3 separate regions of the Homo sapiens genome follow, and all the other regions are linked to region 2. The links are contacts of gene promoters, found by promoter capture Hi-C in human tissues and cell types (Jung and others, 2019). All regions are on one chromosome and are shown on one strand. The core of a region is centred on a gene start or on the middle of the fragment in contact, and the rest is flanking DNA. Distances in the headings are between cores, read along the strand shown.

Region 1 (3,754 bases), core at 310-2,809, 350 kb before region 2:
TCTTCCCCCCAACATTTTTGCTGAATCCCATCCCTTGTAATACTCAAGAAATATGAGAAAAAGAAGCAGAGGGCTGGGTGCAGTGGCTCACGCCTGAAATCCCATCACTTTGGGAGCCCAAGGTGGGAGATTGCCTGAGCTCAGGAGTTCGAGAGCAGCCTGCAAAACATGGTGAAATCCCATCTCTACTAAAATACAAAAAAAAAAAAAATAGCTGGGCATGGTGGTGTGTGCCTGTAGTCCCAGCTACTCAGGAAGCTGAGGCATAAGAATCACTTGAACCCAGGAAGTGAAGACTGCAGTGAGCTGTGATCGCTCCACTGCACTCCAGCTTGGGTGAGAGTGAGACTGTCTCCAAAAAATAAAAATAAAATAAAATAAATTTAAAAGGCTGGGCACAGTGGCTCAAGCCTGTAATCCCAGCACTTTGGGAGACCAAGGCGGGTGGATCAATTGAGATCAGGAGTTCAAGACCAGCCTGACCAACAAGGTGAAAGCTTGCCTCTACTAAAAATATAAAAATTAGCCAGGCATAGTGGCAGATGTGTATAGTTCCAGCTACTCAGGAGGCTGAGGCAGGAGAACTGCTTGAACCTGGGAGGTGGAGGTTGCAGTGAGCCGAGATTGCACGACTGCACTCCAGCCTGGGCAACAGAGTGAGACTCCGTCTCAAAACAAAAAAAAGAAAGAAGAAGCAGAGCAAAAACAGTAGTCTACAGTTTTCCCCAAGCCACTCTCTTCATTAGGGCACTGCTCCCCCTTCTCCCAGCCTTTTAAGCAACAGGCACTAGGTTCACAAGCGAGCTACAGAATGACAGACATAGCCCACTTGGCTAAGTGCACATTGGCGAGCGGACGAAGGGAACTGGGTTGTATACTCAACGGTGTACGTTCTCCTGATCCCCCTTTAATCCCTGGACGATTCCAGTATAGGCTTCCAAGCAGCTTTCCCTTAGCTCATTCAGATAATCCACCATGTCATAGTCTGACTGTAAGACACAAAGAACAGAACCTACATCACACTGATCACTTTTAGCTGCATGTTTGTCAATAGTCCCTCCAATTAGAGCTAGACTTAAAGAACAGCCAAGATAGCTTTAAGCTTACCTTGTCCACCTGGGCTTGGGAGGCCTGCTGAAGAGTATTCAATACAACCTCTAAGTATTTTTTAAACTCTCCTCCAATAGCAAGGGCAATATCACCAAACACTGACAGAATCTGCGGCTTCACAGACCTGTGGACGTTCTCATTCTGACAAGGAACAAAAGGAAAAGTGAATTAAGTCAAAACTTGTTTGGTCCAAAGATTCATGAAAATTTCATTTCTAACAAGCAACTATTGATTTTAAATATTTGGATGGTCCTTTATAGCTTACAAAACCTTTCCCATTTGCACCTCACACCAACTCTAAGAAGCTAGCCCAGGTATTGGTATTCCCACTTTACACATGAGGAGACTGACTTAAGAATCAAGTGACTTGTCTGAGAACACACATGTACAATAATTAATGATGGCTATCTCTGGAGAGAGGTATAATATACAAATGGTCCCCTGCTCATGATGGTTTGATGATTTCTCCACTTTACAATGTGTTTATTGGGACCTAACTCCATCATAAGTCAAGGAACAACTGTATTTACTTTTCCTTTGCATTTTACTGTTTTGTTTTAAAAATCTCTAATAGAGCACACATTCCTTTAACTTTACAATCTTTCTTCAGAGTCATCTGTGAAATGAACAACTCCCCTCTTTATAAGCCCAAAGCCAATGTTCTAGAAACTTACAGCTCCCTGTCACTGATTTTTTTTTTTTTTTTTTTTTTTTGAGACGGAGTTTGGCTCTTCTTGCCCAGGCTGGAGTGCAATGGCGTGATCTTGGCTCACTGCAACGTCCACCTCCCGGGTACAAGCGATTATCCTGCCTCAGCCTTCCGAGTAGCTGGGATTACAAGCGCCTGCCATCACGCCCGGCTAATTTTTTTTGTATCTACAGTACAGACGGGGTTTCACCATGTTGTCCAGGTTGGTCTCGAACTCCTGGCCTGCCTCGGCCTCCCAAAATGCTGGGATTACAGGCCACTGCGCCCAGCCTGGTCGATATTTAACTATCTTTCCAACTGTTGTTTTCTTCAAAGAAGACTGGTTAATTAGATTGTGTGTAGATACTCACCCCCAAATTTTCCAGAAGCAGCTGCATCACCTCGTCACAGAAAGGTATGATGTTGGATTGCAGGGCACGGCACAAGTCTCCCACTAAGCCCACAGCTGCCAAACAAACCTGCCAAGAATCAAGGAAATAATCTTCTAACAGAAAAGGCTGCCTGCTGGGGCAAGATATTATTTTTAACTAGCTGCTGAGCTTTTATCACTTGAACCTAGAGTTAAATCCCTCTGCCGAGATTAATTTTTCAACAACCAACATGGCAGGCAGGGAACAAAGACTATCCGAGAGAGATCACTGATAAAGTTAAAAAAAAAAAAAAAAAAAAAGCCTTGCTCTCCAGGGTGCTAATAGCTCAACTTTATAGCTGCTCCTGCATTAGTACTGTCTAAGCAAATAAACAGTCATCTTGTCCACCATTATCTGTTACATCTAATATCTTGTCCACCGTTATCTGGTACATCTAATATCCTGTTTTTCATGGACTACTTCCAGTTCAAACGTTCAGGCAATGAATAAAGTAGCTTGCCTTTTAGGACAATGTATCAGGAAAAACTACTTAAGCTATAAGAACCTGGTTTTGCGTGCACTACAGTGACTGTCAGATATAAATGGGAACATACTATTTTGAAAAGCACATCCTACCTGGTATTCAGCATAATTTTTTAATCCAATGCCCAGGAAGGGTTTAAAGGCCTCCATGTACTTGAGGAATTCACCACCCAACACTGTAATGAAATAAGCTATTAGCCAATGACAGCACCACGGGTTAACACAGAGGCAGGCAGAAATAACCCATCCTACCTCTCCCAAAATGTACTCGCTCCACTCAACAGGTTGGGTGAAATGTGCTTTAGTTACCGATTCCATCATGAAGACATTAAAGGCTTGCATAAGCCAAATTTATTACTGCTGGAAGGGCCCTAATTCATACGCCACAGAGACAATGCCCACTGTCCACAGAATAGGGCTTTACTCTGACTAATACAACCAAGTGGTATGACCCTCAAGGAATGTCAAGGTTAATTTTAAATGGGCTGAACCAGCAATACTGACTCTTGTCCACCTCCTCATCTGATAATAGCATGTCCTTTCTGCAAGCCAGCTTCAAAACAGGGTCCTTAGGCAATTCCATCAAGGGCTAAACAAGCCACAGCCAGGAAAAGCAGCACTGGGCTTCAGATCCAAATCAGCCACTCCAGGAGCCAAAATTAACTTCTTTGCCCTTTCAGAGGAGTGGTCACATGTTGACAGACCAGTTGGACATAGGCTGTTTATGCCAAAAATAGGTCTAGTCCTCAGGAGAGTGGTCCTCAGGTAAATGGCCTTAGCAATGTACTTACAGGCCACCCCTGAAAAGGCATATCAGATTCCTAAAGTGCTTCGTAATGCCCCTTCAAAGAGTCTTAAGTCAGATATGGCTTCCCCAAACCAATTTTGCAGTCAGACATGTAAAAATCAGAAAATCAATTCCTAGAACTCGCTCAATGTTTCATTTCATCCCATACCAGGCACCATGATGTGTCAATCTTAGTCCAAAGCACTACAAACCAAACCAGGTGATGACAAGTACCAGGAAAGAAAATAGAAACTT
Region 2 (3,526 bases), core at 11-2,510:
TGAAACTCCCACCTCTACAGAATTTTTTTTTTAATCAGCTGGACATGGCGACCTTAGTCCCAGCTACTCCAAAGACTGAGCCAGGAGGATCTTTTGAGCCCAGGAGTTTGAAGCTGCAGTGGGCTATGATTGCACCACTGCACTCCAGCCTGGACGACAGAGACCTTGTCTCAAAAAAAAAAAAGGGGGGTGGGGTGGGCGGTTAAGATCAGTACTGAATGGTTCGCTAGGTTTCACAACACGGAGGACACTGACAAACTTGAAAGGAGCCATCTGGGTGGGGTGGTAAGGAGACAATGTCGTCAGAGTGAGTACAAGAGAGAACGGGGTAAAGAAATTGAACCCAGCCAGTAGGGTAGGCTCTTTCAAGGAGTTACGTTGTTAAGAGAAATAAGGCAGTAGCTGAGAGGAAAATGGGGCTGTGAGGCTTTAAGATGAGAAAAACAAAGGCGTCTTCACTGAAGCATGACTCTGTATGACATCCTTTCACAAAATACCTTCCTCTTTCCTCTCATGCCACATTTCCCTCACAAGCCGCCCGACTCGCTCGCTTTTCTCTCGCCAGAGGGACTGAAAACGTCATTAATACCAACTGCATACACAACTCCATTGCAGCTACTGCCATTCATGAACGTTCAAACTTTCGTCACCCTGTTTTCATATTTGTGTAACAAACGTCGAGTGAACGAACCTCCACCTCTTCCAAGAACCCACGCTGAGGAGGCTTCCCATAGACCCTGCTCTTACGAAGCCAACGACTTCTACAGGAAGAAAGAGGACCTGTAAGCTAGCGAGTGAACGACCCGCAAGATGGAAATGAGTGTGCTAATAGAGGTCTCCGCCTCCCGCTGAAGGAGCAGGGAAGTGACACCACCCCCGGGACCGCCAGCCTTCTACAACAACCACCATTTCTGAGGAACCACCTGATCAGTCTCAGTCACCCTTCAATCTGCCCCTTTGTCCCACTCAGTCCCCTCACTGTTCCTTTCTGGAACCTTCCTTCACCCAGCCCCACCACTGTTCTCCTTCCTCCCTCGCACCCTACTGCATTCTCCACCCTCCACCTCGAAGGCTCCCCTCCCAACTCCTCAGCGGGTCTCGCCTCCCCTCCCCACCTCTGTCCCCCAAGGGTCCCACTACCGGCCCGAGCTGCCCTCCCTTCCTCTCGGCTGGAGGCCCCCGCGCTCTCTGTGGTCAGCCCCTGCCGCCCCTCGGGCGGCGCTGCTCTAGCTCTGCAGCCTTCCCAGGATCCCGCGCCGCGCGGCCCCGCCCCCGCGGTCACCTGACCGAGCCCGACGCTCCGCCCACCGACCACCCCGAGCGGAGCGGGCCCAGGACCCTATCGGCTGTCGAGCCGGTGCTGCCGCGGCCACCGCCACCGCCCAGGGGCTCCGGGGCTGTGGGGAGCGGCTGAACTCAATACCGCCTCCGCGCTGACTGGAAGGCACTGCGGCCGCGCCTGCCTGCCCCACCTCGTAAGGGCCTGTGACCTCACGAGGCCAGCCGCCGGGCGCTGCATTCGAGCGGTGGGGCTCCTGTCCGTGCGCTTTCCTCCCGCAGCCCCGGCCGGGATTCCGCCCTCCGTCCTTGCCACCCGCTCGCCACTCTTCCCTAATCGCTGTTCATTCTCCGGTGCGCTGTCCCGCCATGGTCTGACCCCACTTCAATCTTACCTTCGGTCCGTCCTTTGAACACCCCGACCCCCGACCCCTTTCTTCCAAAACATTCCATCCTTCTTGGCTTCTGCTACTCAATAATGGACAGCAGCTCGAAGGCCATGTGTCCCACGGCTTTGCTGAAATTTGTCTCGGGTTGCCTTTAAGGAGACTGTCGTTTCCTTTTGAAAGAGATACTTTGGTTGGTTTGGTTTTCTTCTGTGTGTTTGTTTTTCCTATGTATTTATCGTATGCAGTTGGGCAAAATACTTAACGCTCCCTGAGTCTCGATTTTCTCATTCTTCCAGGGTTGTGGGAATTCAAAAATATATACGTAGTGCTCAATAAATGTTACAATATTTAATCCCTTCCGTGATACTACTGTGTTCATTTACATCTTAAACCTTGCTTTGTAGGCATTCTTTAATATTTTATTTAGATTTTTATTATTATTAAATATATGTACAAATCATAATTGTAAATATTTAATGGGGTACAATGTTATATTTTAATATATGTATACAATATGGAACGACTAAGTCAAGCTTAACATATCCATCACCTTGTTTAACGTTTTTTATGGTGAGACATTTGAAATTTACTCTTAGCAGTTTTGAGATATACGATATATTATTATTAGCTATAGTCACCACACTATGCAATAGATCTCAGAAACTTGCTGCTTTTGTCTGACTGAACCTTGTACCCTTTGAACAGCATCTCCCCATCCTGCATCTCCTACCCGCCCCGTCCCTTTCCAGCCTCTAACAACTATTCTACTGTCTACTTCTATGAGTTTGACTTTTTAAGATTCCACATATAAGTGAGATCATGTGGTATGTGTCTTTCTGTGCCTGGCTTTTTTCACTTAGTATGTCCTCCAAGTTGATTCATGTTGTCACAAATGACAGAAATTCTTTTTTAAGGCTGAATAGTATCCATTGCATATGTTGATTCATGTTGTCACAAATGACAGAAATTCTTTTTTAAGGCTGAATAGTATCCATTGCATATGTTTACTACATTTTCTTTATCCATTCATCCATCGATGGACACAGGTTGATTCCATTATCTCAGCGATTGTGCATAATGCTGAAATGAACATGGAAGTGCAAATAAGTCTTTGATATACTGATTTCAGTTACTCAATATATGCCCAGAAATAGCATCGCTGGATCATATGGTAGTTCTATTTTTAATTTTTTGGGAAACCTCCATATAGTTTTCCATAATGGCTGTAATAACACTAACAGTGTAAAAGGTTTCTCCACATCCTCAGCAACACATTTTTTTCATCATTTTGATAATAGCAATTCTTTTTTTTTTTTTTTTTTTTTTTTTTTGAGATTGAGTCACTCTGTTGCCCAGGCTGGAGTGCAGTGGCACAATCTCAAATCACTGCAACCTCCATTCCTGGGTTCAAGCAATCTTCCTGCCTCAGCCTCCCAAGTAGCTGGGATTACAAGCATGTGCCACCACACTTGGCTAATTTCTGTATTTTTAGTAGAGATGGCGTTTCACCATGTTGGCCAGGGTGGTCTCAAACGCCTGACCCTCAAGTAATCTGCCCACCTCAGCCTCCCAAAGTACTGAGATTACAGGTGTGAGCCACCACACCCAGCTTAATAGCCATGCTAACAGGTGTGAGGTGATATTGTAATCTTATTTTGCATTTCCCTAATAATAGTGATTTTTTTTTTCGCAAACCTGTTGGCCATTTGTATGTCTTCTTTTAAGAATGGCTGTGTCAGGCTGGGCATGGTGGCTCACACCCATAATCTCAGCACTTTGGGAGGCCAAGGTGGGAGGACCGCTTGAGCCCAAGAATCTGAGACCAGCCTGGGCAACATAGTGAAGCCTCATCTCTACAA
Region 3 (3,458 bases), core at 1-2,500, 370 kb before region 2:
CCAGGTGGAAGGGGACGCGAACGAATTCCCAAGGCTGTCTCAGGGTGCCCGCGCACCGGGAAATGGGGAACCCTACGAGGGGGCAGGAATGACTCAGGCTCCCGAAAGCAGGAGTAGGCAGTGAGGGGGTGCGTGTGTACTTCTCTCGGGCCTGGTTATGAATGTGTGTCTGGGGTTGGCGTATGGGGGGAGTGTGCGTCTGTGAATGAGTGTAGGTGTGTCAGTCAATGAGTGCCTTCGGGGTCGCAGGGGCGTCGGGACGGAGTGGGGCAGCGACCAGGAGGCTGGTGTGTGCACGCGTGCGTGAGCGCGTGGGCAGGGTGGCACGTCCGGGCCGCGTGTCACGTGAGACGCGAGGGGACTGTCCGAGGTGTGTGCGCGCGCTGGAGCGTTATGTGCACCCCGGAGAGGGGGCTCGGCAGGGAGCTGTGAGTTCAGACAGCGGGGCCCCCAGGTCGGGCTGCAGGAGCTTGGGGTGCAAAGGGCTCCGGCGCAGGCTCCAATTCAATCCACCCCCCCCCCTCCGCCACCCACAGGCCCATCTAAGTGCCAGGGAAACGCGAGTGACTGGGTCTGAGTAAGGAGTGTGTGCGCGCGTTTGTAGGGCCGGCCCCACCTTTAACCCTCTCCTTCCCACGCCATCCCCTCCCCCCAGCTCCGCGCGCCAGCGCTTACCACACCCCCCCAGACCCCCGCCCGCCCCTCTGCGCCCACCCCGCTGGCGGGGCTCTGTCCCCGAGGCCGCACCACAAATGCCTCCTTCCTCCGCATTCCTCTCTGGGCCCAGCGCCCGGGTGAGCGCAATGGAAGGCGGCTGGGGAAGGGGTGAGTGCCTCTGTCGGCCCGGGCCCCTCCTGCGGCCCCTTTAAGAGCCGCCCTTTAAACCCCTTTCGCTCGGCCGACAGAAATTGTCGCCCCTCCCCTCTCGGGGGCCGAGACCACGCAGCCCCCTCCCCCACAACCGGCCGAGCCCTGGGCCCCCGGACACCCTCTCGGGGCCGGGGAAGGGGCTCCGGGAGTGGCGCGGCCTGAGGAACGGCGGCGGAGGGGGACGCGAGGGGATGAGGGCGGCCGACACCGGACCCCTTCCCTCCCAGCCATCCCGTGCGGCTGCCAGCCGCCCTCCTGCCGCCTCCTCCTGCCCACCCCGCGACCCCTGGGGCCCAGCCCGGGCGCCGCTCCCCTCCCCCAGCCCTAGCCCCAGCCGGGGACTCACAGCTGCTGCCGGTTCCTGCTTGTAATCGCAGCTTACCCCCTCCGCCTGCTCCCTCCCCAAACGGGCACCAGTGCCCCCACCCCCCTGGTACCGCGCTCTGCTCCTCGCCCTGTCGCCGCCGCCGGGTCTCTCCCCACCCCCCACCCCTCCCCCCAACCCCCTCCCTCCCGTCCGCCCCGCTCCTCCTCCGCCGCCGCCGCCTCCTCCGCCTCCTCCTCCCCGGCTGCTCCGGGTTTCTCCAGCTGGGAAGGCGCCCCGGACCCCGCCGCTGCCACCACCACGTGGCGAGAGGCGGCGGCCCCTACGGTGCGGCCCTTCCTGGCAGCGCGCCCGGAGCCCACCGGCTCCCTGCGGCGCCAGCGGCCCGCGCTGGCGCCCCCTCCCCGACGCCTCCCGGCGCAGTGTGGCGTGGTGGCGTGTGTTGGGGGCGTCTGCGGTCAGTGCAGGGGCCCGGCTGATGCTTTGGTTGTTTTGGTTGTTTAGTTATGGGCTGTATATTTGGGGAGGAAGTGGGGCTATTTATCTGGCTTTTTTTTTTTTTTTTTGGTCTTTGCGCTTTTGAGAAGGAAATCATTAGACCTGCTCTTCGTTGCTCTTGGTAAAAGGGGCATTGCTGCGATAAATACATTGAACATAGGGTACAGAGAGATTAAAGCTGTAACTTCTTTGGAAGTGAGAGTAAACTAAGGAGGTCAAAGATTCATTCATGAAGAAGGACAGCCATCTCCCTCCCCACACACCACTCCCCGGCCACCCTCAAGTACCCACAGGTCAGGGAAATGAAGAAACAACAGATGTCACCCTGTGCACAAAGATTATTTGAGCACCTGCCAAACTGCTGGGCAAGAGAAACAAGTTTTTTGCTACTTTCCTGCTGTGTGACCTTGGGCAAGTTACCTTAACCTTTCTAAGCTGGAGATCATGCCCCACCTAAGCACTCTCATGGAGGAAGAATGGGGATCAGAACTAAATACAGCAGCCTGCGAATGCTCAGGAAGTGTTAACGATGTCATTTTGAGTATTGCCTGGTGGATTAAATAATGTGGACAGAGGCATGGTCAGCCTAGCTGCAGGTAGAGAATGATCAGGGGAACCCTGGAGCACTCTGGCTGAAGAGCATCCTCTGTGGACAGGGAGGCAAAGCCCGGAAGCAGGGGATAAGCTGGGCGGGGGCTTTTGGCAGATTCAGCCTTAGCTGCGAAGACTGCTGGGAACCTGAGCCTACCTTTTTGGCTCCTGAGGTGGGATGGGGGTGGGAATCTCCGAGGGGGAGGATGGAAGGAAAAGGTTTCTTGCTCTCTCTGAGCTTTGAAAAGCAGCAGCTGCCATCTTTCCTCACTGCTGGGAGAAAATTGGACTGAGAGGTGAGCTTCTACCAGGAGAGCCAGCCAGAGCTCTAGACTCATTCTCTTCATAGAAGGGGGGATTCTCAGTGGCTTCCTTCCTCCTCCTCCTGCTGGGTTCCCTTTCAGTCTTTCCTGCCAGCACTGGCTCCCGTTTGTAGTCCAGAACAGGAAGGCAGGTCAGCCACTTGTTCTCTGAGGCACTAGCTTTCTCTGAACCATGTGGGATGACCTATCTACCCTCTAGATATGAAGGCAAACCAGTGGGGACATCTGTCACCCCACTAATCCCAAGGGCTAGGCAGATGTTCCTTTCCCTAGTACTCCCCAAGATCTCTTCTGAAGCAAGGGACCAGGCAAAAGATTGGAGGCTAGACTAGGAGGTGTAGGGTTGTCTCTGGGACCCTCGGTGACCTTGGACTTGGCCACAAACAGGACCCATAAGACCAACTGGCAAGCCCTCCCTCACTGGAAAAAGGGGTCCCAGGACCCTCTAAGCACACACTGTCTGGGATGAGTCATCAGCCCCCTGCTGCTGCTTGGATGCTCAGGGCCTAATTGAGTCACCTGGCAGGGTGCAGCCAAATGCTTCTATCCTTGGTTCTAGGTGGTTGGTGGCAAAAGTCCATTAGGCCTGGTTTAGGTGCCCTAAAATCCTCCCCCTCCCCCAATCTGGACCTGATCTCATTGCATTCTCCATTTCTAGTTCTGCTGCTCATACCAGGCAGTTCTGAGAGCAGAGATTATATCCCATCCATCCTTGTATTCTAAGGTGCCCTGAGGGTTGGTACCTGCTCGTTGTATATTTATTCGGCAAAGATTTCTTGAACATCTATTATGTGCTGGGTGCTGAGAATACAGTGCTGAACATGTCTCTGACAGGTATACATGTCTCTTGC

Evidence for each region. The method cuts DNA at HindIII sites, captures the fragments that hold promoters and counts their contacts. A contact is called where the count stands out against the background at its distance.
Region 1: a fragment that was not itself captured here is called in contact with the fragment with the promoter of EFCAB13 in region 2 in 1 of the 25 tissues and cell types used here (lymphoblastoid cells).
Region 3: a contact is called between the fragment with the promoter of TBKBP1 here and the fragment with the promoter of EFCAB13 in region 2, in 1 of the 25 tissues and cell types used here (IMR-90 fibroblasts).

What each region holds. Positions count from the first base shown.
Region 1 is chr17:47,675,543-47,679,296 of GRCh38, reverse strand. KPNB1 (karyopherin subunit beta 1) reads right to left here. Exons shown (of 22, transcript NM_002265.6): 16 at 2,806-2,888; 17 at 2,170-2,277; 18 at 1,108-1,251; 19 at 884-989. Among named protein-coding and RNA genes, the nearest start is that of TBKBP1, 17 kb to the left of the region's middle. The HindIII fragment of the contact is 3,989 bases long and covers 1-3,553 here.
Region 2 is chr17:47,321,689-47,325,214 of GRCh38, reverse strand. It overlaps EFCAB13 (EF-hand calcium binding domain 13), which reads right to left and starts at 1,260. Exons shown (of 25, transcript NM_152347.5): 1 at 1,141-1,260; 2 at 692-761. EFCAB13-DT (EFCAB13 divergent transcript) reads left to right here and starts at 1,314. Exons shown (of 3, transcript NR_110880.1): 1 at 1,314-1,526. RefSeq lists enhancers at 472-651, 692-781 and a silencer at 1,122-1,531. The HindIII fragment of the contact is 8,264 bases long and covers 1-3,526 here.
Region 3 is chr17:47,691,953-47,695,410 of GRCh38, reverse strand. It overlaps TBKBP1 (TBK1 binding protein 1), which reads right to left and starts at 1,250. Exons shown (of 10, transcript NM_001394755.1): 1 at 1,217-1,250. RefSeq lists enhancers at 1-134, 135-814, 815-1,495 and silencers at 592-651, 902-1,031. The HindIII fragment of the contact is 16,798 bases long and covers 1-3,458 here.